Linked DNA regions of Homo sapiens: all the other regions are linked to region 4. Evidence: promoter capture Hi-C in 16 types of primary human blood cells and fetal thymus (Javierre and others, 2016). All regions are on one chromosome and are shown on one strand. Each heading gives the region's core, a stretch centred on a gene start or on the middle of the fragment in contact. The rest is flanking DNA. Distances are from core to core; before and after follow the strand shown.

The links. Contacts are between HindIII fragments. The CHiCAGO score rates a contact against its expected background, and 5 or more counts as called.
Region 1: a contact is called between a fragment that was not itself captured here and the fragment with the promoter of CD101 in region 4, in 2 of 17 cell types (M2 macrophages and M1 macrophages). The highest score is 5.1, in M2 macrophages.
Region 2: a fragment that was not itself captured here is called in contact with the fragment with the promoter of CD101 in region 4 in 6 of 17 cell types (total CD8 T cells, activated CD4 T cells, M2 macrophages and 3 more); the score reaches 7.0 in total CD8 T cells.
Region 3: a contact is called between a fragment that was not itself captured here and the fragment with the promoter of CD101 in region 4, in 1 of 17 cell types (M0 macrophages). The highest score is 7.0, in M0 macrophages.
Region 5: a contact is called between a fragment that was not itself captured here and the fragment with the promoter of CD101 in region 4, in 1 of 17 cell types (M1 macrophages). The highest score is 6.8, in M1 macrophages.
Region 6: a contact is called between a fragment that was not itself captured here and the fragment with the promoter of CD101 in region 4, in 2 of 17 cell types (activated CD4 T cells and M1 macrophages). The highest score is 5.7, in activated CD4 T cells.

What each region holds. Positions count from the first base shown.
Region 1 is chr1:116,551,569-116,555,191 of GRCh38, reverse strand. The region is part of intron 1 of CD58 (CD58 molecule); the gene reads left to right. LOC105378925 (a long non-coding RNA gene) reads right to left here. Exons shown (of 3, transcript XR_947739.2): 3 at 1-3,623. Among named protein-coding and RNA genes, the nearest start is that of MIR548AC, 6.7 kb to the left of the region's middle. The HindIII fragment of the contact is 1,762 bases long and covers 1,357-3,118 here.
Region 2 is chr1:116,698,225-116,701,994 of GRCh38, reverse strand. All of the region lies in intron 2 of LINC02868 (long intergenic non-protein coding RNA 2868), which reads right to left. Among named protein-coding and RNA genes, the nearest start is that of LINC02868, 6.0 kb to the right of the region's middle. The HindIII fragment of the contact is 2,596 bases long and covers 420-3,015 here.
Region 3 is chr1:116,495,920-116,499,332 of GRCh38, reverse strand. All of the region lies in intron 1 of LOC112268235 (a long non-coding RNA gene), which reads right to left. Among named protein-coding and RNA genes, the nearest start is that of LINC01762, 19 kb to the right of the region's middle. RefSeq lists an enhancer at 199-298. The HindIII fragment of the contact is 1,376 bases long and covers 1,353-2,728 here.
Region 4 is chr1:116,999,288-117,003,226 of GRCh38, reverse strand. CD101 (CD101 molecule) reads right to left here and starts at 1,467. Exons shown (of 10, transcript NM_001256106.3): 1 at 1,367-1,467. The coding sequence starts at 1,409. The HindIII fragment of the contact is 2,275 bases long and covers 1,044-3,318 here.
Region 5 is chr1:116,594,383-116,598,307 of GRCh38, reverse strand. The region is part of intron 7 of IGSF3 (immunoglobulin superfamily member 3); the gene reads left to right. It overlaps LOC105378924 (a long non-coding RNA gene), which reads right to left. Exons shown (of 3, transcript XR_947737.3): 2 at 3,240-3,324; 3 at 2,567-2,975. Among named protein-coding and RNA genes, the nearest start is that of CD58, 25 kb to the right of the region's middle. RefSeq lists a silencer at 1,385-1,444. The HindIII fragment of the contact is 514 bases long and covers 2,135-2,648 here.
Region 6 is chr1:116,662,719-116,666,592 of GRCh38, reverse strand. It overlaps IGSF3 (immunoglobulin superfamily member 3), which reads left to right. Exons shown (of 11, transcript NM_001007237.3): 2 at 1-309. The coding sequence starts at 267. Among named protein-coding and RNA genes, the nearest start is that of IGSF3, 3.1 kb to the left of the region's middle. The HindIII fragment of the contact is 760 bases long and covers 871-1,630 here.

The sequences.
Region 1 (3,623 bases), core at 988-3,487, 450 kb after region 4:
CTTCAAAATCTGGGCACTCTCTGTTCTGCACTCTGGCATGGTTATTAGCGTCCCTACAGTCCCTTTTCTGACCACTCAGTGGTATCAGCAAAGCAACAAACTCACTGTTGACACCATTCCTTTGCTCCTATTTGTGTATTCATTCATTCATTCATTCATTCGTTCATCCATGGTTTGTGACCTTTGAGAAAAAACTCACTCCCCTTTCTTCTATTGTTCTTTTGTTCATTAGAAATTATCTTAGCAACTTACTTTAGTGTTGGCCTTGGAAGTGCAACAGAAAAGACTTTACTGTAGGAAGGAAATAATAGATATACCCATGCACACAAAGTAGAGGTAGATATTAGTTTTAGAGACAGTTCTTAACAACTCCTCCTCTTGGTTGAATAATTCTATTTAAAAAAAATTTACATAGTTTTAATATTATAATAGTAATAGGATATTTGTCTTCAAAAGTAACATATTTTTCAATGTGACCTGTATTAAGTAATAAGTAATAAATTGAAATCTCACCATCACCACAATCTCTAAAGTAACCGTGGTTACTTTAAAAACAACCACTGTTAATCATTTAGGGTGTCTCTTTCCAGTCTAAAAAAAGAGCAAGTGAGAATGCATGTACACATGTATTCATGTCTTTTTATAGTTAAAATATATATATATTTTTTGGTAGAGACAGGGTCTCACTACATTGCCCAGGCTGGTATCAAACTCCTGGGCTCAAGTGATCCTTCCACTTTGGCCTACCAAAGTGCTAGAATTGTAGGCATGAGCCACCACATCTGGCCTCTTTATTGTTTTTAAAAAGAGGAATATTCTGCATATATATTTCTATAACTTTTTATTTTTAATATTAAGAAATTTTCCAAATTCCCAATAATAAAAGGAGAATATCCTGTTTCCTTTTTTAAAATAACCACATAGTAAGCCATGGCATAATACTAAATTGTTTAACTATTAGACTAGATTATTATTTACTAGTATAGATAACTTTAAAATGAATATCATTATGCATATCTCTTTATGTAGGTTATACTATTGTTTTATTTGTTAACATCCTGAATAAATATCACCCAGATCCCAGTATTCAGTGAAACTACAGGTTCTTTTAGAGCATAAGCAAAAATAAATTGTATGCATGTGTTTTTGTATGTGTGTTTAATTCTGCTTACATTTGAATTTTCTTCCATCTTTTTCCTACTATCTGAGTAATATCACTAGTGCCTTTTATTCAGTCAAGTCTCCACATGTTGACTCTTGTCTTGGAGTTATGATGCCATCCCCCTCCTGGCCTTTCTTCTACTTCCCAGGTCTCTCTCAGTCTCCTTAGCCAGTGTTTTCCCCTCTAGCCAAGCTTTAAAGCACAGGTCCAAGCTGCCTTTTCCCACTTCATACGCTCTCCCAAGGTGATGGTCCTAATGGCCTCCATTGGAGCCACTAGAAATGTGATGACTCCCAAATCTGTATCCTTTCCTGTGAGTCCCAGACCTGTGTACTTAGCAGCTACTGGGCATCTTTGCTTGGATGTCTCACAGACCCCTCACACTGAACAGTGTCAAACTGAAAGCATGATGTTCCAGGCCAGTCTTAGTCTTCCTGCTGTGTTTCCTTTCTTAGGGAAAGACACCACAACCCACCTAGGAGGAAGTAAGAGCTGTGATTCATCCTGGCCCTCCTGGCACCTCCTCTCCTCCTCCTTTACCCCATATGCTGTCAATCATCTAGTTCTCCCAGTTTTACCTCCCTAATGTCTCTTGAACCACTTTGCCTAGCACAATGCTGCCTCTTGACCAGTCTGAAATTGCTGTCTGATGGATCTCTTGCTATCTAGTCTTACCCCTCCCATCAGTCTTCCACACCATAGCCAGAAAAGATAAACACTTTCATTATGTAAAAATATAGAAACTTTGTATGGAAGATATTCATTTAGTAAATTCAATAGGCAAAGGCTGTATTTGAAAAAAAACTATAATACAGATAAAAATATATAACATATAAGGAGCCTTTAAACTTTGAGAAGAAAAAAACAAACAATCTAATACAAAAAAAGAGGATGTGAAAAGACATTTCTCAGAAAAAGAAATCCAAATCAACAAGCAGAAGAGATGCTTAAATTTTTAAAGGTTGGGAAAATGCAAATTCAAGTATCAATGAAATGTCACTATTTGCCCAAAAATTAAACATAAAAAAAAAATTACCTAATGCTGTCAGGAGTCCAAGGAAAGGGCAACTCAGGCATTACTGATGGAGATGTAAATTGCCAAAGTCTTTTTTGTAAACAATGCAGCAACTTCTATTAAAATAAAAAAAATCTATTTACCTTTTGATGTAGCAACTCCCAGCTCCACTCTACTCCCACATAAATATGAAACCATAAATACATCAGGACATATGTACAGGATAGTTATTGCGGTGTAACTGCAATAGACAAAGCTAGCCACAAAAGGAGTGTTCATCAGTGGTGGATGGCAGATTAATTATGGTTCCCTCATGCTCTGGAATATTATGTAGTTATTAAAAAGAATAAAGTATAGCTATACCAGTTGATTTCAAGGAGATTTTATGACATATTAATGGAAAGGCGGGATGTAGAGAAGTGTGCATAAGACCATTTTTATTAAAGAATGGTAAATCCCTCAGGCACACCTCCTTTTATTGCATTTCACTTTATTGCACTTCACAGATAATGTGCTTTTTACAAATTGAAGGTTCGTGACAACCCAGCTTTAAGCAAGTCCATCAGTGCCTAACTTTATGTTTTGTCTCTCTGTTACATTTTAGTAATTCCCACAATATTTAACGCTTTTTCATTATCATATCTGTTATGGTGATCTGTGATCAGTGATCTTTGATGTTACTGTTGTCATTGTTTTGGGATGCCAAGAACCATGCGTATAAGACGGTGAACTTAATTGATAAATGCTATGTGTGTTCTGACTGCTCCACTGACTGGCTGTTCTCCCCATCTTTCTCCTTCTCCTGGCCTCCCTTGTCACCTGAGACAATGATACTGAAATTAGGCCAATTTAATAACCCTGCAATGGCTTCTAAGTGCTCAAGTGAAAAGAAGAGTTGCACTGTCTCTCACTTTAAATTAAAAACTAGAAATGATTAAGCTTAGTGAGGAAGGCATGTGAAAAGCCATGACAGGTGGCCGGGCGTGGTGGCTCACAACTGTAATCCCAGCACTTTGGGAGGCCAAGGTGGGTGGATCACCTGAGGTCAGAAGTTTGAGACCAACCTGGCCAACATGGCGAAACCCCGTCTCTACTAAAAATACAAAAATTAGCTGGGTGTGGTGGTGGGCACCTGTAATCCCAGCTGGTTGGGAGGCTGAGGCAGGAGAATCGCTTGAACCTGAAAGGCAGATGTTGCAGTGAGCCAAGATGGCACTATTGCACTCCAGTCTGGGCTACAAGAATGAAACTCTGTCTGAAGAAAAAAAAAAAAAAAGAAAGAAAGAAAAAAAAAAAGCCACGATGGGCTGAAAACTAGGCCTTTTATGCCAAAGAGTTAGTGAAGTTGTGAATTCAAAGGAAAAGTTCTTGAAGGAAATTAAAAGTGCTACTTCAGTGAACACATAAATAAGAAAGTGAAACAGCGTTATTGCAGATGGAGAAAGT
Region 2 (3,770 bases), core at 468-2,967, 300 kb after region 4:
GCTGAGATCGCGCCACTGCACTCCAGCCTGGGCGACAAAGCAAGACTCCATCTCAAAAAAAAAAAAAAAAAAAAAAAAAAGAAATACTTCCAGATTAAAGGGAAATATTTCATCATGAAAAAAGGGTCAATTGATCAAGAATACTTACAATATTCAATGTATGAGCACCTAACAACAAAGTTTGAACATACACAAAGAAAAAACTGGCAGAACTGAAAGAAAAAACACACAAATACAAAAGTATAGTTTGAGATTTTTAATAACCCCCTCTCAGTAGTTGATAGAACAAAATTTAAAACAAGAAAGTAAAAACTATCTTCTGATTTTTGTAGTCCCTCCCCAACCAAACTCCCAATACTATGCCAGTCATCAATTCCAAGCTAATGTTTGATGAATGAAAAAAATCCTCAAAATAAGCTTTGTTTTCCATTAAAGAGAAAACAACCCCTAAAAATAAAAAATAAACTTCTACTAGCAAGATGGATAAAGAAAGAAAAAGCAAAAACACAAAAATAAATATTAATAATAAAAGAAGGGACATCATTATAAGTCTTATAGACATTAAAAAATAAAAAGGGGATATTATGAACCACTTATGCCAACAAATTAAAAAGTTTAGTTGAAATGGATAATTCCTTTGAAAACATGAATAACTCAAATTGACACTAGAAGAAATAGAAAATTTCAACAATTCTATGTTAAGCCTAAATAAATTGGATTTATAACTTAAAATCTTCTGACAAAGTGGACTCTGGGCCTAGATAGATTAAATAATGAATTCTATCAAACATTTAAAAAGGAAATAATACCAATCTTAAGCAAAATCTTTCAGAAAATAGAGGGGGAAGAAATACTTCCCAACTCATTTTATGAAGTCACCATTATTCTAATAACAAAACCAGACAAAGACATTAAAAGAAAATTATAGTCTAATTCCTTATGAACATAGCATAGATAAAAAATTCTTAACAAACTATTAGCAACTAGAATCCAGAAATACAATTAAAATGATAATACATCATGACTGAATGGAGTTTATTCCAGGCATGCAAGGTTATTTAACATTTGAAAATCAATCATTGTCATTCATCACATTAATAGAATAAAAAAGAAAAATCCTATGATCATTTACAACAATGCAGAAAAATCATCTGATGAAATTCAGTGCCTTGTTATGATTTTTAAAACTCAGTAAACTAGGAATAAAAGACAACCATCTTAACCTAATAAAGGAATCAATGAGAAACCTGAGCAAATACTGTAAATTAATATTGGAAGACTCAACATTTTCCCATTGATATTGAGATCCAGGCAAGAATGTTTGTTTTTTCTCTTCTATTCAACATTAATATTGGTGTCCCACCAGTAAAATAAGACCAAAAAAAAAAAAAAATCTTACAGATTAGAAAAACAGAAGTTAAACTTTTTTTATTCACATAGTACACAATTTTCTTTTCTTTTCTTTTTTCTTTTCTTCTTTTAGTTAATAGAGATGAGGTCTTGCTGTGTTGCCCAGGTTGGTCTCAAACTCATGGCCTCAAGCAGTCCTCCCACCTCAGCCTACCAAAGAGCTAAGATTACAAGCATGAGCCACCATGCCCAGCCATGTACATAATTTTCTATCTAGAAAATACAAGTCTACCCTGAATGGCTACTACATTAATAAGTGAATTTAGTAAGGTTGTAGAATACAAAGTCAACATAAAAAATAAATTGTATTTCTGTATACAAGCAACAAATAAGTGAGACATTAAAATGTAAAACATCATTTACAATAGCATCAGAAATAGATAATATTTTGGAATTAATTTAACTAAGCATGTATAGGACCTATGCTAAAAACTACAAAAAAACTACTGAAAGAAATTAAAGACATTTAAAAAATGGAGACACATAACTGTTTGTGAATTGGAAAACTCAATATTGTTATGCTGTCCATTCTCATCACATTGATATATAGATTATATGCAACCCCAATCAAAATCCCAGCAGGCATTTTTTCTTTAAGCAATTGTAATACTGAACCTAAAATTTGTAAGAAATTAAAATAGCCTATGTTAGCCAAAACAATTTTGAAAAAGAAGTTCAAAACTGAAGGACTTAATTTGATTTCAAGACTTACTTTAAAGCTACAGTAATCAAGAAGTATTGCCTCTGGCTGCTTCCTCATTATGATGGTAGAGTTGAGTAGTTGTAACAGGAACCATATGGCCCAGAAGGCCTAAAATCCTATCTGGCCTTTCACAGAAAGAGTTTGCTGACCTCTGTGATACATGATGCTCATGTGTAAGACACTCCTATCTATAATTCCTGGCCTACCTGGTATTATTCCACCACTTTCTCTGTTACTCATTATAGCATATTAAAGTGCAGATGAGGGAAAATAATTTTAGAAATAATATTTAATCCCTTCTAATTTATTTAAAATCAAAATTGTTCATAGATTTTGGCACTTTATGGTTAATAATATGTTATTTGCAATATCCCTTACAACTGTATACAAAGCCATAGTGGAAAACCAGTCCTACCAGGATGAAGATAATTACACATTAAATTTGTATTCTATGTAAATATGTATATGAGGCATTATAAGCATTATTTGACCCATTTTTTAAATGAGGAGGCTGACTGGCAAATGCATCTATTAGAGCCTGCAGAAAGTGAGGAAGGCATGGTTAGGAAAAACAGACCAATTGGACAGTGGAATTAATAGGTTCAAATTGGTGATAGATTGGACATAGGTAATGAAGACAAGAAAGTATTGGAAAAGTAATTTTGAGAGTTGTTGTGAATCTGGGTTTTTAGACAGGGTTGCCATTGACCTGGTAGGAAAATTGTGAAAAAACATTTATTTCGCCACTGAGAGCAGGTTGATTATGAGTTCCATTTCTAATTGCTTAAAGTGGTGCTTTCCAAATTAATGGATTTACAAAGTACCTGGTCATCTTGTTAGAATGCAGATTCTGATTCAGTAGTTTTGTGACAAGGCCCAAGATTCTGCATTTCCAATAAGCTTCCAGGTGATTCTGATGTGACTGGTTCAGGAACCACACTTTTTTAGAAAGGCATTAAATGTGACTAAAGGAAATCCAAGTGTAGATTTCTTCTGGAAGGTAAGAGGAGGGTCCTGACAGGGAATACTGTTTATGCAGTTGGAAAGAACCTATTTGTCTTCTCTAGAGGCAAGATACATAACTAAGGGCCTGTAATCTTGAGGAGATTCTCAGTGCAGAGAAGAGAAGGATCCAGAACAATCAAGGAGACAGAATAAGAGCTATCAGAAAACTAGAAGAACCAGGAGCATTTAGCATCATTAAGGAATCCTATGGAATATTGAATTTCAAGGAGTCAATCAATGAATTCCAACATGCAACTCATTCATCACACAATCTTTCCTGGCCCCCTTTCTTTGCCTCCTTTGGTCTTTTTTCCAGCGCTCTCTAGAATGTAGTAGATGCTTACTGGACTGTCTGTCCAAAGCTTCCCCACTCCTTTTTTTTTTTTTAGGAAAGCCTCCCATCATCAATATGACTACCATAAGAGCTGCCATGTTTTTATGTGACTCTCTGTCCTCTTCCTACAGTTGATTGGTCCAGGCATGGACACCTGATCCCAGCTCAACCAATCATAAATTTCTTCTCTGGGATTATTCAAACTAGGATTCTACAGAGACAAAAGTTGTCAGGTGCAAAACAGTCTTTATAATAGGAAAAGTCGTTTGGCACAAAATCTACTAGTCCTAATATGCAGCCATGTTAGGAGCCAATAGA
Region 3 (3,413 bases), core at 791-3,290, 500 kb after region 4:
AAATGTAATAATCTTGAACACACCCAGCTTCTGGGAGCCTGGAAGGTGTTTGCCGAGCTGCTTTTAGGGACAGTGATACCAGCAATATCCACTGGGGGTCTCTCTCATACAAATAATGGCATAGCTGTTCCCAGCAGTTAGAGGAAATGGCAGCCCTGGGACCTGGGGGGATCCAAGGGCAGTCCACGTCTCCATGGGAAGATGGCAGCAGCTCTGTGGCTCTTCACAGTGAAGTGACGACCTGTTGTTAAATGTTTAACAGAAGCCAAACTTGGCTTTTAGGGGACAGCTCTCCTGCCAGCCAGCCAGCTTGCCAAAGGAATCTTTCCTGTGCACAGAGAGCACACTGGGCTTGGAGACATTCTCTGCACAGTGGGATTTGGTGAGAATCTTAAGAGTTTCTGTTCAAGGTCAGTTTGTCTCTCTCAGACCGTGGCACCAAGGAACCTGCTGCTACCCTACTTGATGGGGCTGAACAGGAGATATATTCCACGCTTCACAATTGCCACCTTTCGGGAGCGGCTTCACCAGGTGAAGAAGCCCTGGTTTAGAGATGAGATCTGGGTTTGGGTTCTGGTTCTGCCCCTCATTAGCCATGTGACCTTGAGCAAGCCTTATCCTTTCTCGTTCTCGGTTTCTTCATCTGTAAGATTAGGAATACTCATCTCTAATACTAATCTCAAAAATTGTTTTGAGTGTTAAATAGGAACGAATGCATATGAAACTTTAGAGAAGGGCTTGGCAGATGTTTTCTATGAAGGGACAGATAGAAACTATTTTTGGCTTTATTGACCTTACAGGCTCTGTCTCAACTACAGAATTCCACGATTGTAGTAGCGTGGAAGCAGCCATAGGCAATTCATCAAGAGATCAGCAGGGCTGTGTCCACTAAAACTTTATTTTACAAAAACAGGCAGTGGGCTGGGTCTTGCTCATGGGCTGTACTTTGCCTATCCTCACAGCCTGTTTCTGTGAAGCCCGTGAGCTCAGGATGGTTTTATGTTTCTAAAGGGTTGTAAGGAAAAAACAAAGAAAAGGTGACAGTGCCCAGAGCGAGTATTTACCACCGGCTTCTTGGAGAAGCTGGCTGGCTCCGCTCTAGAGCATTGCAGGAAAGTCAGCCCAGGAGGCAGGCAGCTGTGTCCCTGAGTATCAGGGGGCCTGCCTGGTAAGTCACAATGAAACAGACAGTGGCCAGATGACCCCTGGGCCCTATCCAGCTCCAGGGGCTAGGGTCCACATGACTCTGATGACCGAGCTCAGGGGCTAGAGGAGGGAAGGGAAATGGCCCCCTAGTTCTCTTTTCAGTTGTCTATTTCAGATGGTCCTTATGAAAGAGGATCAGCAAAGCTTCCATCAGAAAATGAACCAATAATCAAGTGAATGGGGCTTTCGTTTCCTGAATTGTCTCTAGCCTGTGAGGCTGTGCTTCCATATGGAACTTCTGAGTTCTCTACGAACTCGAACAATGAGTCATGGGCGAGCCCAGGACTCCCACCCACTTGGAGTCATGGGGCTCTGACATGGAGACAAGACCACAGGGTTTCTGTCAGGCCAGAGCCCTGACCCCTCAGCTAAGATGTTTCTTCTTTGTTCTAGATTCAGTCATATAAGCAGAGGCAGCAGGTACTAGGCCTCAGAGTAATAGTCCCTGAAGAAAATAAAGAGAAAGTCTGTCTGAGAAAAGCCAGTTGTGCCAGTTAAAGAATGACCTATGGCCACAATGCCTTACTGGAGGGTGCTTGGGAGCCCATGTCCTCATGTCTGTTGTATCGGGTTAGGGAGATCCTGGTGCATTTCAGTGGGGAGGGGGTTGCTGCTGGTCGTGTTTTCACTCCTTCTCTCTCCTTCCCCAGTGACCCCAAGACAAAATGCTGTTAGGTAAGTGGGGTCTGCTTAGCCCCACTAAGTTCCCCCATCCACCATTAGGAATCAGTGGTATTGTTATAGTCTACCAGGACCGACCTGGTGCTGCTCAGAACCAGGGGCTCAAGGCAGGGCCTCCCTTCATCTTCTTAAATTATTCTCTAGCAGCTCTGAGTCTCCCAAAGATTGGTCCTAGAGAAAAGACTATGTCATTTACTGCTTTTTCTGATGGTAAAAACATGCATATTTACTGCAGAAAATTTGAAAAATAGAGAAATGTGTAAAGAAGAAAACGTACAAAATAACTTTAGACTCAAAACCAATCTGATTAAATCAGGAAATCATTATTTATTGAGCACCTACTATGTGCCAGCCACTGTTGTTCTTGGTGCTGGGGACATAGCAGTGAAAAAAAAACAAAGTCCTCCCCTTCGTGGAGCCTATATTTCAGTAGGGACAGTCAGTACAGTACAGGAAGGGGCTGGGCTGATGGAACAGGATGCCTTTTTTGATAGGGTGGTCAGGACAAGAGGAAGCAAGGGATGCAGCTATTTGGGGAAGAGTGTTTCCAGCAGAAGGAAGAAGACCTGCCCAGGTGTCGGATAAGAGCCTGCTTGGTGCATTCAGGGATACGAAGGAGGCCAGCGTGGCTGAGATGAGGTAGGGGCAGCCGGGGTGAGAACAGGTGGGACTTGCCGGCCATGAAGAGGACCTTGGATTGCTGTTGAGTGAAATGGAAAGCCAAATGTAGGGTCTTGAACAGAAGAGGGACATGATGAGCCTTATGTTTTGAAATGATCATTCTGGACACCAGATGGAAAATAGACAGGGGCTGGGGGTGGGGTTGGCAAGGGGAGAAGCTTGGAAGCCATTTGGTTATTGCGAAAGTCACACAAAGCTGTGAAAGCAGAGCTGGCCTGGTTGAAGGAAGGGTGGAGGTGGGGGGAGGGCCGGCATTTCCTCCCACTGAGCCTCTGCCCTTCCCTTTTCCTGCTCTCTGAGGTTCCACCATGGGACCCCAGGGTACCTAGGATTACAATTTGAAAGCTATTGGACTAGAGGTTCTCTAAGGGCCCTTCCAGCTTTGCCTCCTGTGCTCTTGTGTTTCAGGACCATGCTGATTCTGTGGGACCAGGCCCGGGCTCTACCAGCCAGGCCTCTGAACATGTCAACTTGAGAACTGAACAGGTTCAGGGTCTAGGAAGGGGAGACATTTCAAAATTTTAATTAAAAAATATTTTTAACGTTTAAATTTTTGTAGAGACAGGGTCTTCCCATGTTGCCCAGGCTGGTCTCAAATTTCTGGGCTCAGGTGATCCTCCCGCCTTGGCCTCCCAAAATATTGGGATTACAGACATGAGCCATGAGATTTGGAAACTTAATTCAGCTCCCACATACTAAACGTGGCCAGCCCTGTGTGGGGATTGTAAGAGGGGATAAGTAAGAGGAAATGTCTGCTCCAAGAAACTCACTGGCTGGGATGGGAACTAGGGAATCACACAAATGGCCCAGCCCAAAGTCTGAGAGGCCCCGGCCCCTCCCTGCCT
Region 4 (3,939 bases), core at 218-2,717:
CCCAATCATCCCAGCCATTCGGGTCCCTGCACTGGCTCCATCCAGTCTCTCTAAAGCAAGAGTTTTGTTTGTTTGTTTGTTTTTTTAGATGGAATCTCACTCTGTCACCCAGGCTGGAGTGCAGTGGCTCAATCTTGGCTCACTGCAACCTCCACCTCCCAGGTTCAAGCGATTCTCCCACCTCAGCCTCCCAAGTAGCTAGGGCCACAGGTATGTGCCACCATGCCCAGCTATAAAGCAAGAGTTCTTAACTGGGTCCACATGTAGGATTAAAGGGTCCATAAACTAGGGTGAAAAATAATCTTACATCTTTATTTTCATTTTTGCCTCTAATGGAAATTTAGTATTTTCTTCAGTTATGTATGTAGACAACCACAGATATCTTCATATCACATTACAACTACTTAAGATATATTGAAATGTTATTTATACTCATCATTACTTTGAAGTTTGGTGGTTAAAAGACCTACCTGTAGATTTTGTTATGTAATGCATAAATAAGAAGCAAATAAATTACTGCATTATAATTTATTTAAAATATTTTGATACCTGTATTTCAATGTGACTGATTTCCTCTGTAATTCTATGCATTTTATTTTATGCATTTTAAACATTATTCTGAGATGGAGTCTATTCTCTTTACCAGATGTTAATGAAAACTGTAGCATAAAAAGTACCTGCTATCTGGTTTGAAACTATTCCATTACCTGCTCAACTCATCTGACTCTCCCTTCTACCTCCAAATTTTCTCTTCTTCCATCCTATTCAAACATAGATAAATGCCCCTAGATCAGGCAAGCCCCTCTGCATGGCCCTCAGTAGAGCCAAGTGAATCTTCCTGTTCATTTCTCAGTCTCTCAGTAGTCAATTTCCACTTCCACTCGCAGGTGAAATCTAGAACCTTCTTTTAGCATAGTCTAAAACTACTAAGTACTTTCATAACCTTTCTTTCCATCCAGTCATATCTGCAAGGCATAGTTATCCCATCAAGCCTTAATATCAGGCAAACCTTAAGGTCTCCTCTCAGTTTGGGACACAAAGCTTTTTTACTGTCTCTTGGGATGATCGGCCCAGGAAGATGAGTAAAGCCAGGGCCAAGCAAAACTGACAGATCTGGCAACACACACAAATGTTAAAACCAATGGAATCTTGTGCATGGGACTCAACCAAGCATTGTGACTCCCTGGAACTCAAGGATGTCTAGGTAAGCCAAGAACTGTCATTAGTAAGTCAAAAATTATTGCTAACATCAGAAATATATGGCATAGTTGTTCCTGTAGAGACCAAATTGTCCTGTTCCATCACTCAGCACCCTGAGTTGATGAACTCCTGTGACAAGAGAAACATAAAGGATTATGAAACTTACTCAGAAGGAGAAAGAAAGATGCCACATATGAGATGCCTGCCATTTGGGCCAGCACAGTCCTTTTTCGTCCCAATAGTGTCACTAACATTCAGAGGTTGAGTGACAAATGCTGTGCTCTCACTGCAAAGTAAAGAGGAAGCAAAAGTGTGGTTTTCAGCCCACTGAGAAATAGAGATGTCTTGTGAAAAGCAAAACTGGTTACATTATGTAGCTCTTTACTAATCACTCAAATTTGGGAGTAAAAAAGTTATCTTTGTGGTTAAGTAAACAGATATCGATAAAACTAAGAAAAGATGGGTCTCAACCTGGCTCACAGTATGTGTCATTTGGTAATGATGAGAGAATTTAGGTAAACTGAATAAATAAAAAAGGCACCAGCAATGTTGTCTTCTTGGCCCTTCCTTCTCCTCCTCTCTTGAGAGAGGAAATGACTGAGAAATGGGAGAAGGCCCCTGAAAAACATGAACTTGGGGCGACATGAGGTGGTGCTGAAGGTTACAGGCTCTAGAGTCAGGCTGCCTGGGTTTGCATGCAGATTCTAGTTTTAGTAACTGTGCAATCTTAGAAAACTTAATTAACTTTTCCTAACCCTCATTGCTAAAATGAGGATACTAATAGTAGGTACCCTGTAAGATTACTGTGAATGCCAAATGAGCTAATTTTTTAATTATTTTTTTATTTCTTTTTTTTTGTATTTTACTTTTTTTTATTATTATTATACTTTAAGTTCTAGGGTACATGTGCACAACGTGCAAATTTGTTACATATGTATACATGTGCCATGTTGGTGTGCTGCACCCATTAACTCGTCATTTACATTAGGTATATCTCCTAATGCTTTCCCTCCCCCTTCCCCCGACCCTATGACAGGCCCCGGTGTGTGATGTTCCCCTTCCTGTGTCCAAGTGTTCTCACTGTTCAATTCCCACCTATGAGTGAGAACATGCAGTGTTTGGTTTTTTGTTCTTGAGATAGTTTGCTGAGAATGATAGTTTCAAGCTAATTTATTTAAAGCACTTAGAACAATATCTGGTACATAGTAACTGCTCAATGAATATTAGCTACCATCATCACCATCATGAGACATTTAAGTAAATCTTCATCTGCCCTGTGAAACTGCCTTTGCAAAAATTGTAACAGTGAGAAAGTTATGACAGTGAAAGGGATCTGACCTCACCATCTCCATCTTGCTTCTAACTTCCAAGCTGCCCTTGTTAATTCCTGGTTGTAGGCCAAACTAACTTTGGGAGGAATTTAGCTTAGTTTAATTTTGAAACAAAGAGGATAACAGCCCTTTCTGGAAACAAACCCCCTTCTTGCCTGGGGAGCAGACTTCCCTAGTAAGACTAACAAATTAGCCACAACATTAGAAATTATGGTTTAGGAGTCATGCAGCCAGAGGCCACACAATTCCAACCTCCCCAACTGTTCCTAGGGATAACATCACTATTGTAAAACCTAAATTGGTGCTCAAGGTATTTTTCAGACCCTGCATCCTGATGCACCAGCTGACACCATCCAGGCTGGTGATCTGGTTCCACCAGTTCTTTGATCCCACTTAGGAACGGAAGACTGCAAGAACCCCCTTTGATCCCCTGTGATTTCATCTCCTACCTGACCAATCAGCACTCCCCACTCCCTGGCCTGCCAAATTATCCTTACTAACTCCAGTCTCTGAATTTCCGGGGAGACTGATTTGAGTAATAAAACTCTGGTTTCCCATTTAGCTGGTTCTGTGTGAATTAAACTCTTTCTCTATTGCAATTCTCCTGTCTTGATAAGTCTGTTCTATCTGGGCAGCAGGCAAGGAGAAACCTGTTGGGCAGTTACGCTAATGGGCAGTTACACCGATGTGAACCCAGGTATCAAGGATGGCAGAGGAGTATCTAAATGCAACAGTTGGCCCTGAACCTAGACTAATACTACGCTAGTGCTAGAGTTCTCAGGAAGCTTCCACTTAAATCAGATAATCACAATGCAATGTGTCAACAATCAGTGGGGCACCTATAGGGGGTGGGGAAAATTGGTAGGCAGGAGGGAAGGTCAAGATGGATTGGGCTGGGCCAGGTGAGTCAATGAGTCATCTAGAGAGGCAGGGGGCCAAGGTACAGTTGGGGAAAAACCGTGTGGCATGAATAGTAACACACAGGCTGTACTATCTTGTTGGAATGAAGTTTGAGGTTGTTGTGAAAGAAGGATCTATACAGGTAGGATGGGCAGATCTTAGTGGGCTTCGTGTGCCAAGCCTAAGAGCTTGGCTTTTATTAATACCTCAAAGAAGAGGGAAGCTATGAAGATTTTTAGTGGTAGTATAGCCTGGTTGGATTTTCCGTTTTTCCTTTTAAGTTGAATTCTGTATGTGTGCATTGCTAACAGGTTGAAAGGTGAAGAAGGGAGACAAGGCTAGAAGCAAGAAGGTCAGTTACAAGGTTTTTGTAGTTGTCTCTATGAGCAATAATAAGGGCCTGAAGTAGGGCATTTAAAATAAAGACAGAGGCCGGGCGCAGTGGCTCATGCCTGTAATCCCAGCACTTTAGGTGGCAGAAGCGGGCGGATCACGAGGTCAGGAGATC
Region 5 (3,925 bases), core at 1,142-3,641, 410 kb after region 4:
GCATTATTGAGTGGGACATTAGGATTGTAATTGCACCTTTTTTTTTTGTCCCCTCTGGCTCTCAAGGTCAGTTTTCTGAGCAGCATTGCCCATCACATGGTTCTGCAGCTGTAGAAGGTAGAGGAGTTGCTGACCTCAAGACCTTGTCTGACATTGCCTTTTTGAATACATCCCTAGTATTTGCCTGTTTCTGGTACTACTTGGAATCTAAGACTGGAGTGCCTAAGGGAAGAATACAGAATTAGTTCATTGAAGGTTCTAATTATTTGGATTAGTTTATGGTGTTACTAAAGGCAGACAGGGAAAAATATGTATGAAGTACCTCTTGGATGCCAGGTTTCTGCTTAGTGCTTTACTCATGTTTTCTTTTTAAATTTATCCAACAACCTAATAATGTAGGTGTTTGTATCCCTATTTTGCTAATGAGGAAACCAAGGCTCAAAGTGGTTGGGAATCTTGATGGAGGCAAGCCAGCTGGTTAAGTGGCAAAACTGAGATTTGAACTGAGATTGGAGCCCAGGTATCTCTGACTTCCATAGAGCAAATGTTTTCCTTTATACCATAATTGCCTCCTGGGTAAAGTAGCTGGAGGGTTGGGAGACCCCAGATCTGCTCTGAGGTCGTCTTTGTGTCTTGGGTGTCTTGAGTTGGTTTCTGTTGTGTTTTCACTGTAAAGTGAGAATGAACAGTGGTTGGCAGAGGAGACTTATGAGTATCACTGTACTTGGGCTGTTAAGAGGCCTCTACTTAAAGGTGCACAGTAATATACTTTTATGGCCCTTTGGAGGCTAGGAAGAGCAAAGGTGGGTGCTTGAGGCCGTGCAGGACTCCCAGAGGGCAGCTGAGGCACCAGGAGAGTGCATCCCCTTAAGTGTTACTGTCTCTCCTCTATTAAATATTTATGCATTTAGCACTTAATATTTTCCAGAGAGCTTCATATGAGTTTTTACTCTTTCCTATATACTTTGGTGCTGGTGCATTCATTTTGGGGAAATAGAAGTGGAAAAATACATGAGAGCTGACTGTGCGCTGGAGACTGTTGGACACTTGGTGTATATTACCTCACTTAATCTTCACTGCAACCCTGGGAGGAACATATTGCTTTCCCATTTTATAAATGAAGTAACAGAGGCTCTGAGAGATTCTCACTTCCTCAAATTAAACACCTAGTGAATGGGGGAAGTTGGGATTTGAATCCAGGTGTGCCTTGTTAAAGAGTAATTGCGGTAGGGAGACTTTGACCTTTTAAAGGCTATGTAATCAGAGATTATTCTTTCAGCATTCAGTTAATCGTGTCCTTTACAGAAGAATTTTCTCCTTGTAGATTGATGATGTGGAGGAGTTATAGCACTAGTGTTACTGGTAGTAACAACAGTAGCAGCTAATATTCACTGAGCATTTCTTGTAAACCACTGTGAATGCTTTGGTTCCTCGTTTCTTAATCCATGCAGTGCTGTGAGGGGGACCGTTTTACCCAACTTCACAGATGAGGACACTGACACAGAAGTTACATAAATTGCCCAGTGTGCCATAGTAAGTGGCAGAGCCAGGATTCAAGTCCAGACAGGCAGTTTGGCTCCAGAGTCCAAGTTCCTAATTTTATTATTATATGTTCTAGACAAGTGTTTTTCTTCTCAGGAATCCTCTTTGGTACTGTATACTTGTATTTAATGTTTCCTCTCTCTGGTTAACCACCCCTGATTTCCTAATCCCCTTTAGCAAATCCTTAAATTTGTTTTTTGGAAGTTGGGGTCATAAGACATTGGTAGAGGTTCCTCAAGACACAGTTTGCTGATGGTGTAGAAGTTTTATCTTGTGCCTCTTTTAACTCCTGATTCTTCCAGCTTCTGCCACAAGGTGGCTCTAAGACTTGCGGATACCAGAGCTCCGAACCAGCGCTGTCCTCTCTTCTTTTGCTCTCCCTGCGTACCTTGCCCCTCAAAACATAGATTCTTAGCCCTGCTCTGGTGTCTTCCATAGAAATGTCCCCTGCTACCCCCGTTTTAAAGAATATTGTGTTAAATATTCTTATTCCATCAGAATCAAATAGGAACCCAGGGACTGTTGACTCACTCATGCTGGTCTGTTTACCATCAGCCTTCCACTGCTGTGATATCATTTATCGCAGCAAGCTTCTTTGTGGTCTGTGCCCCAGACTCGTCCCTGCTGGAGCCACCTGCTGATCCTGCCCCCATATCAGTATTCATCAGAATCTCTGGTTGGATGGCACAGTTGACTTGTGGATCTGTTATTTGACCATTCCCTGTGTGTGCTTCCTGTTGCATATGCATATCCCCAACAGAATCTTCAAGGAATGCCATCACTGTCAACGTTGCCATTGATCTAGCTTAGTCTGATCCCCATTGATCACATAGTGTGACCCCTCAAGGGGTGCTTAGGCAAGACTTTCAGCCAGTTCACATGTTTGATTATTAGCTCTTAATCAGTTCTTTTCTCTTTTAATTGTGAAGCATAATTGCCTTGCTTCCTTCTGATTTTCTTTAGCTCAAAACACCCTCCAATTACATATCCTTAAATACAGAAGCAGTAAGGGAAATGTTAGCACTCATTTTCCAAATGTTTATGACAATATCTTGGTTTGGCTATTAAATATTGTACATTAAAATTGACAAAGCCATAAACAAGCTTCCATGAGGACAGCCTCTAGTGGTGGAAAGCCGACTTGTCAGAGGGTGTATTCTGCTGGGATTTTACTGATGGGCAGTCAGGATGAATATTTAATACCCTCTGGATGTTGCCAAATCGGTTTTCTTCTATTTCTTATTGCTGACCCGGCAGATTGGGATAGCAGAGGGCTTTTCTTTGACTTCCATGAGTCCAGAGCATGTGAACACTGGCTCTCCTTTCACATTCTGAGGGATGGCTGCCCCATCCCTCAGAGGACTGGCCTCTGCCTTCTTTCAGGGGAGTCTGGGGTTCTCCTTCTTCCATCCCAGGTGGCTTCTGCCTGTTGTCTGTGCCAAGATAGAATGGGTGTCAGTGCAAGAGCCCTAAGAGGAGAGCTCAGCCCCTCCCAGATCCCTCAGGCCTGTTGTCATGGTAACACCGGGGCACTTGTTATTGGCATCAAGGAGCCAGGGTCACTGCCCTACCTGCAGACAGGTAAGGCAGGGTAGGGCACATCTGGGTAACCTTCATTAGCTATTTCCACCTGCAGACTCTTGCTGCTTTCCCCTTGCCCCTCCCTCCCTGTCTCTCTGCATGCATTGAGCACCTACTAAGTGCCAGGTTGCCATGCTGGTGAGGCTGCTGAGATGGGTGTGTCACGTTCCTGCCTTGCGGGCTCTGTGGGAGGCAGCAGGCCTAGGGACAAAGGAGAGCAGAAAAGCGTTACAGGTGTGGAGGCAGAGCCAGCACAGGGCATGAACGGGGGCAGGGGGCGTGAGGAGGGAATGGGGTAGGGGTGAGGGTGGGAGGTTGGGAAGGAGGAGTGGAGCATTTCAGGCTCAGAGAAGAGTGTGAATAAATATAGTCACGGAGGGTGGGAGCAGCATGCTTATCTTGAGATGACTAAAGCATGGGGTCTGGGGAGGGTTCACCCCCAGGCAAGCTGGCAGGGATCAAGAAGTCCCTTTTGTACATGGGAGCATGGGGTGAGGGTGGGCATATGTAATAGCTAAAAGCAAGGACAGACCAGACGGCCTGGGTTTGAATTCCAGCTCTACCACTAAGCCAGCTGTGTGACCTTGGGCAAGTGTCTTTATAAAATTGGGAATAATATTTATTTCATAGGATTGGTGAGGACCAAATAGTTAATATTTATAAAGTGCTTAGAATAGTGCTGAGCACATAGGACCAGATGAAAGTTTGCTAAATAAATGAGAATATCCTAAACTCAGAAATTAGGACTTTAGCTCATACCCAGATCATATACTCCATTTTTGTAATAATTTATAATGTTCCC
Region 6 (3,874 bases), core at 1-2,500, 340 kb after region 4:
CACGATGTGGCAGGAGCCGGGAGCGACTTCCGAATTGTTGTGGACCCTTCCTGTAGCATAGGGGAGTTTTCACACTTGCCTCCACTCCTCCCCTTCCCCCCAACTCCCTCCTTCTGATCTCTTCTTTTTAATCTGTTCCCATTTTCCGAGTTAAGTTCTATTTCCAAAACTGTTCTCTGGAGCTATAAGTGGATTGCCAGAAATGAGAGATTAGGAGCTGGGAGAAGAGGAAGCGCCTTGTGTTGTGTCTCCTGGAGGCTGCCGACATGAAGTGCTTTTTCCCGGTGCTGAGCTGTCTGGCTGTGCTGGGTAAGTGGCTCTGCTTATCAGTGCAATCGATGTGAAAGTTTAACCTGCTCTTGGTTCCTGTAATTTCTCGTGGTTCTTTTTCATCAACACTAGGATTTGGGGGACACCAGGAGGCGGTCGGTGTGTGTCACAGGTTGGAGTAGAGTACGAAGAGGCCCGTTTCTAACCCAAGAGCAACGGTGGAATATCATTTGTTATCTATAAGAAGGAACATTTGCTGTTCTTAAAGTGTCTGTCTTGGCCCCTGGGGTGAGGTCCTGCATCTGCACATCTGTGGTTTAGGGACTTCACATGGCTGGTGGGCTGCTGTCTTGTAGCATGTCAAACATGGATGCTCTGGTGTTTTCACTTCTTTGTTGGGCTGCATTGATTCCTAATTGGGAGTGGGAACATCATTCCCCTCTGTCTCGAAAGTTGGTTTGGGTGATAATGATGGTGCCTTTTTTGAGGTGGAAATGGGAGTAAGTGGGATGGGGGTTGAAGGGATGCTTTGCCTACCTGAGTGGTCTGAAGGCTAAAAATGTGAGGGCACTAGTCCTGTGTCTCCTCACCAAGGAAGCTTAGATCGTAGTTCTGGGAGAAGGAGAGCCTGAAGAAAAGGAAGCTGCCTGGTAGGGGAGATTTTAGGATTGGCTTTTGTGCTCCCACAAATCAGAATGCCTAGAGTGGGAAGAAGAAACTATGGCCCTGAGAGGTGAACCTTTGACACCCCTCTTAAGGTGCAGATGCAGGACCTTCACCCCAGTGAAGAGGCCCCTCTGCTCAACAATTGCCTATTCTTTTTATGCCATTGAGCACTGTCTTCAGCGTGCTGTCTTAGAACACATCTCAGGTCTAGGATAAACTTCATTGCCAGGATTTGGTGCCATTCTCTTTCCCCATCTCAGACCTCATACATGAGCACACCCCCTGCCCTCTCTGTAAGGCTCGGTCCTCTGCATTCAGAAGGGATTATGATTGTTGCCTACAGGGTTCACGTCTCCAAATCTAGGTGTCTTGCACGTAGGGAACTTAGGGTGATCTGTTGGCAGTGGAGATTGCTTCCATGCATTGTCTACACCCTTGCAGTAGGTAACAGGTGTGTGGGAAGAGAATGGACTTTAGAATTAGAGGACCTGAGTTCCTATCCCAGCTTCACCATGATTGACATCTGAATGTCAATAAAACAGAAACAATAAAACAAGGGAAGGTGTGATAACTAAAGGATATAAGGTGTCCTAAATGCCTTGACTGCCTTAAATAATGTCTGAAACTCATAATAGATTTGTGCAATCAGTGGTTCTCAAACTCTCGTGTGCATGTTGGAATCACTGGGGAAGCTTTTAAAAATTCTGATTTCAGGCAACAACCCCAGATCAGTGAAACCAAACTCGCTTAGGGAGTGGGACCCAGGTCTCAGCCTTTGAGCTATCTCAGGTAATTCCATGCATGGTTCAGTAGAGAACCAGTGGGTGAGTTCACTAGCGCCAGTGCCCTACCACCCAACGCATGCAGACACCCTGCTGGTAGTTTAGTTAGTCTTCTGTTCAGCTGTGGGCTGGGATACAGGCAGTGTCTCCATGTCACCTGTATGCTCAGGCAGAGTCAAGAAGGCAGGGAGCCCTTCATTTGCCAGTCTCTTCATATTGGATCTGTATTTGTTGTACTGTATGTGTCATTCGCTTAGTGTCTGGGTTTAAATCAGCAATTAGTGATTCATGTGGATTCAACAGGACACAAACAAGGAAAGCCCTTGGGGAGGTTTGGATGTGGGGTGGGGTGTGTGGCTAAGGCGGGAAAGAGGGCTGAGTGGCAGGGTGGGGCCCAGGGCAGGAGAAGTAACCATCAATGGGAAAACAAGGCAATGTGACATTTGTGCCTTTTGTTTCTTCTGGCTGCTCAAGTAATGTAAGGCTGCATGCTGGTCCCCCTGCTGTTCGCTCTCTGGGCCACTCTGTGGAGTGGAGCTCGGGCCCTGGCACCTGGCAGGTGCTGTCATTTTCCCTCCACCCTCATCTTCATGTGTAAACAGGTGCCATGGAGGAAAATGAGCATCAAGGTGGCTTTAAAGGGGCACAGTGGCAGACATCCAGATGCAGGCTGAAGTGGGAAGGTTTGGAACTGTAGGCATGCATGTGGATCTCTGCCTGATTTGGAGCCCCACTGGTGGAACCTCATCTTTCTCTTCACCTGATGGCTCTCAGTATGGCAGGAAGGAGGCCTGGCTACTACTTTACTAATCTGGGAGAGGTAGAAGGCGTTTGGGGAGGGAGCAAAACCCATGTTGGGGTCTTATTTCCTGCTTGTCTTCTGATGTGGTCTGGTTCATGTGTCAGCATTCTTGCTGCATAATGTGAATTAATGTGTAGTATGAATTTAAAACAGCGAAGAATCCCAAGGTTTTAAGCCCATATAGGTCACATGCCTGGAATAAAATTTTGTTTAAAAAAGTTGGATAAGGCTAAGTGCTCTGAAAGTGAGACCGATGCAGGTACCAGCCTCTAGAAATGGCAATTTTAGTTAGAAAACCCTGGACAGTATGTGAGGGGTATACAGGGTAAATCTCGGAGACGCTTTCATCTCCCTCAACATGACAGACCTGTGCTTTTCTGCACCTGTCCTTTGCCAGTGTCTGGGATTGGAATCAGATTCCTCTTTTCTGTCTGTTGGGATACTGATTCCTGCTTATGTCTTTGTCCTACCCTTTGTCTTTGTACCTACCCCCTTGACCTCTGTGTGTTGTTTCCTTCTGTCCTAACCCTAGGTGCCTCACCCAATAAGGGTTGTGGTGGCAGTGCATGGCTCTGCCACCACAACCCTTGGTTCCAATTACAAAGCCATTTAAGCCTGGCTCTGGTTGAACCATGAGGGTAGTAAAGTCTCTATTTGAGGATAGATGTGGCCAGAGGGGCAGAAGATTAGAGAGAGAATAGAGGCTGGTACAGTGGTAGGAAGGGAAGGGTGACTGGAAAAGTGCCTCTGTCTGGGAGCAGCCTGCATGAGTGACAGTGACATGGGAAGATGACAGCAATGTGGGAAAGAGAGCATAGGATTTGTGTCTGTAAGAACAGGAAGGAAATTCTCAGGAAAGATGAATATAAGCTTTAGACACATACAGCACATTTTGATTTTGTGTAGCCAGGAAGAGTTATATACCTCCCAGACCAGTGCTGATGTTGCAAACAAGATTAAATAGCTTTAAAAGTGTTAGCAATGAAAAATGTAGGAGATTGGGACATCTGAGAACCTGTAGATGGCAAATGATCATTTGTGTTCTGCTCCAGAGGGAGAGAAGTTCATTTGTAGAGTTTGGGAAGTCTCTTCTTTGAATACGGTAAGGCTGAGGAAGCCATCTCTTACTTCCCAGTTAGTTAGAAAAGGCTTCTGAAAGGGATTGAAAGAAACTTTGAAGTACTATGGGTGTGACCTCAGAGGCAGGGCTGGAGTGATCAAAGGCAGAGGAGAAAGAGGAGGCAGAGAAAAGTGAGATGGTTTGGAGCAATCAGGAGAAGGGTTCTGAAAGAAGGGGATGAGGATTGTGATTTATGGATGAACAAACACCACTGTCCTAATAGTTGTCCCAGAG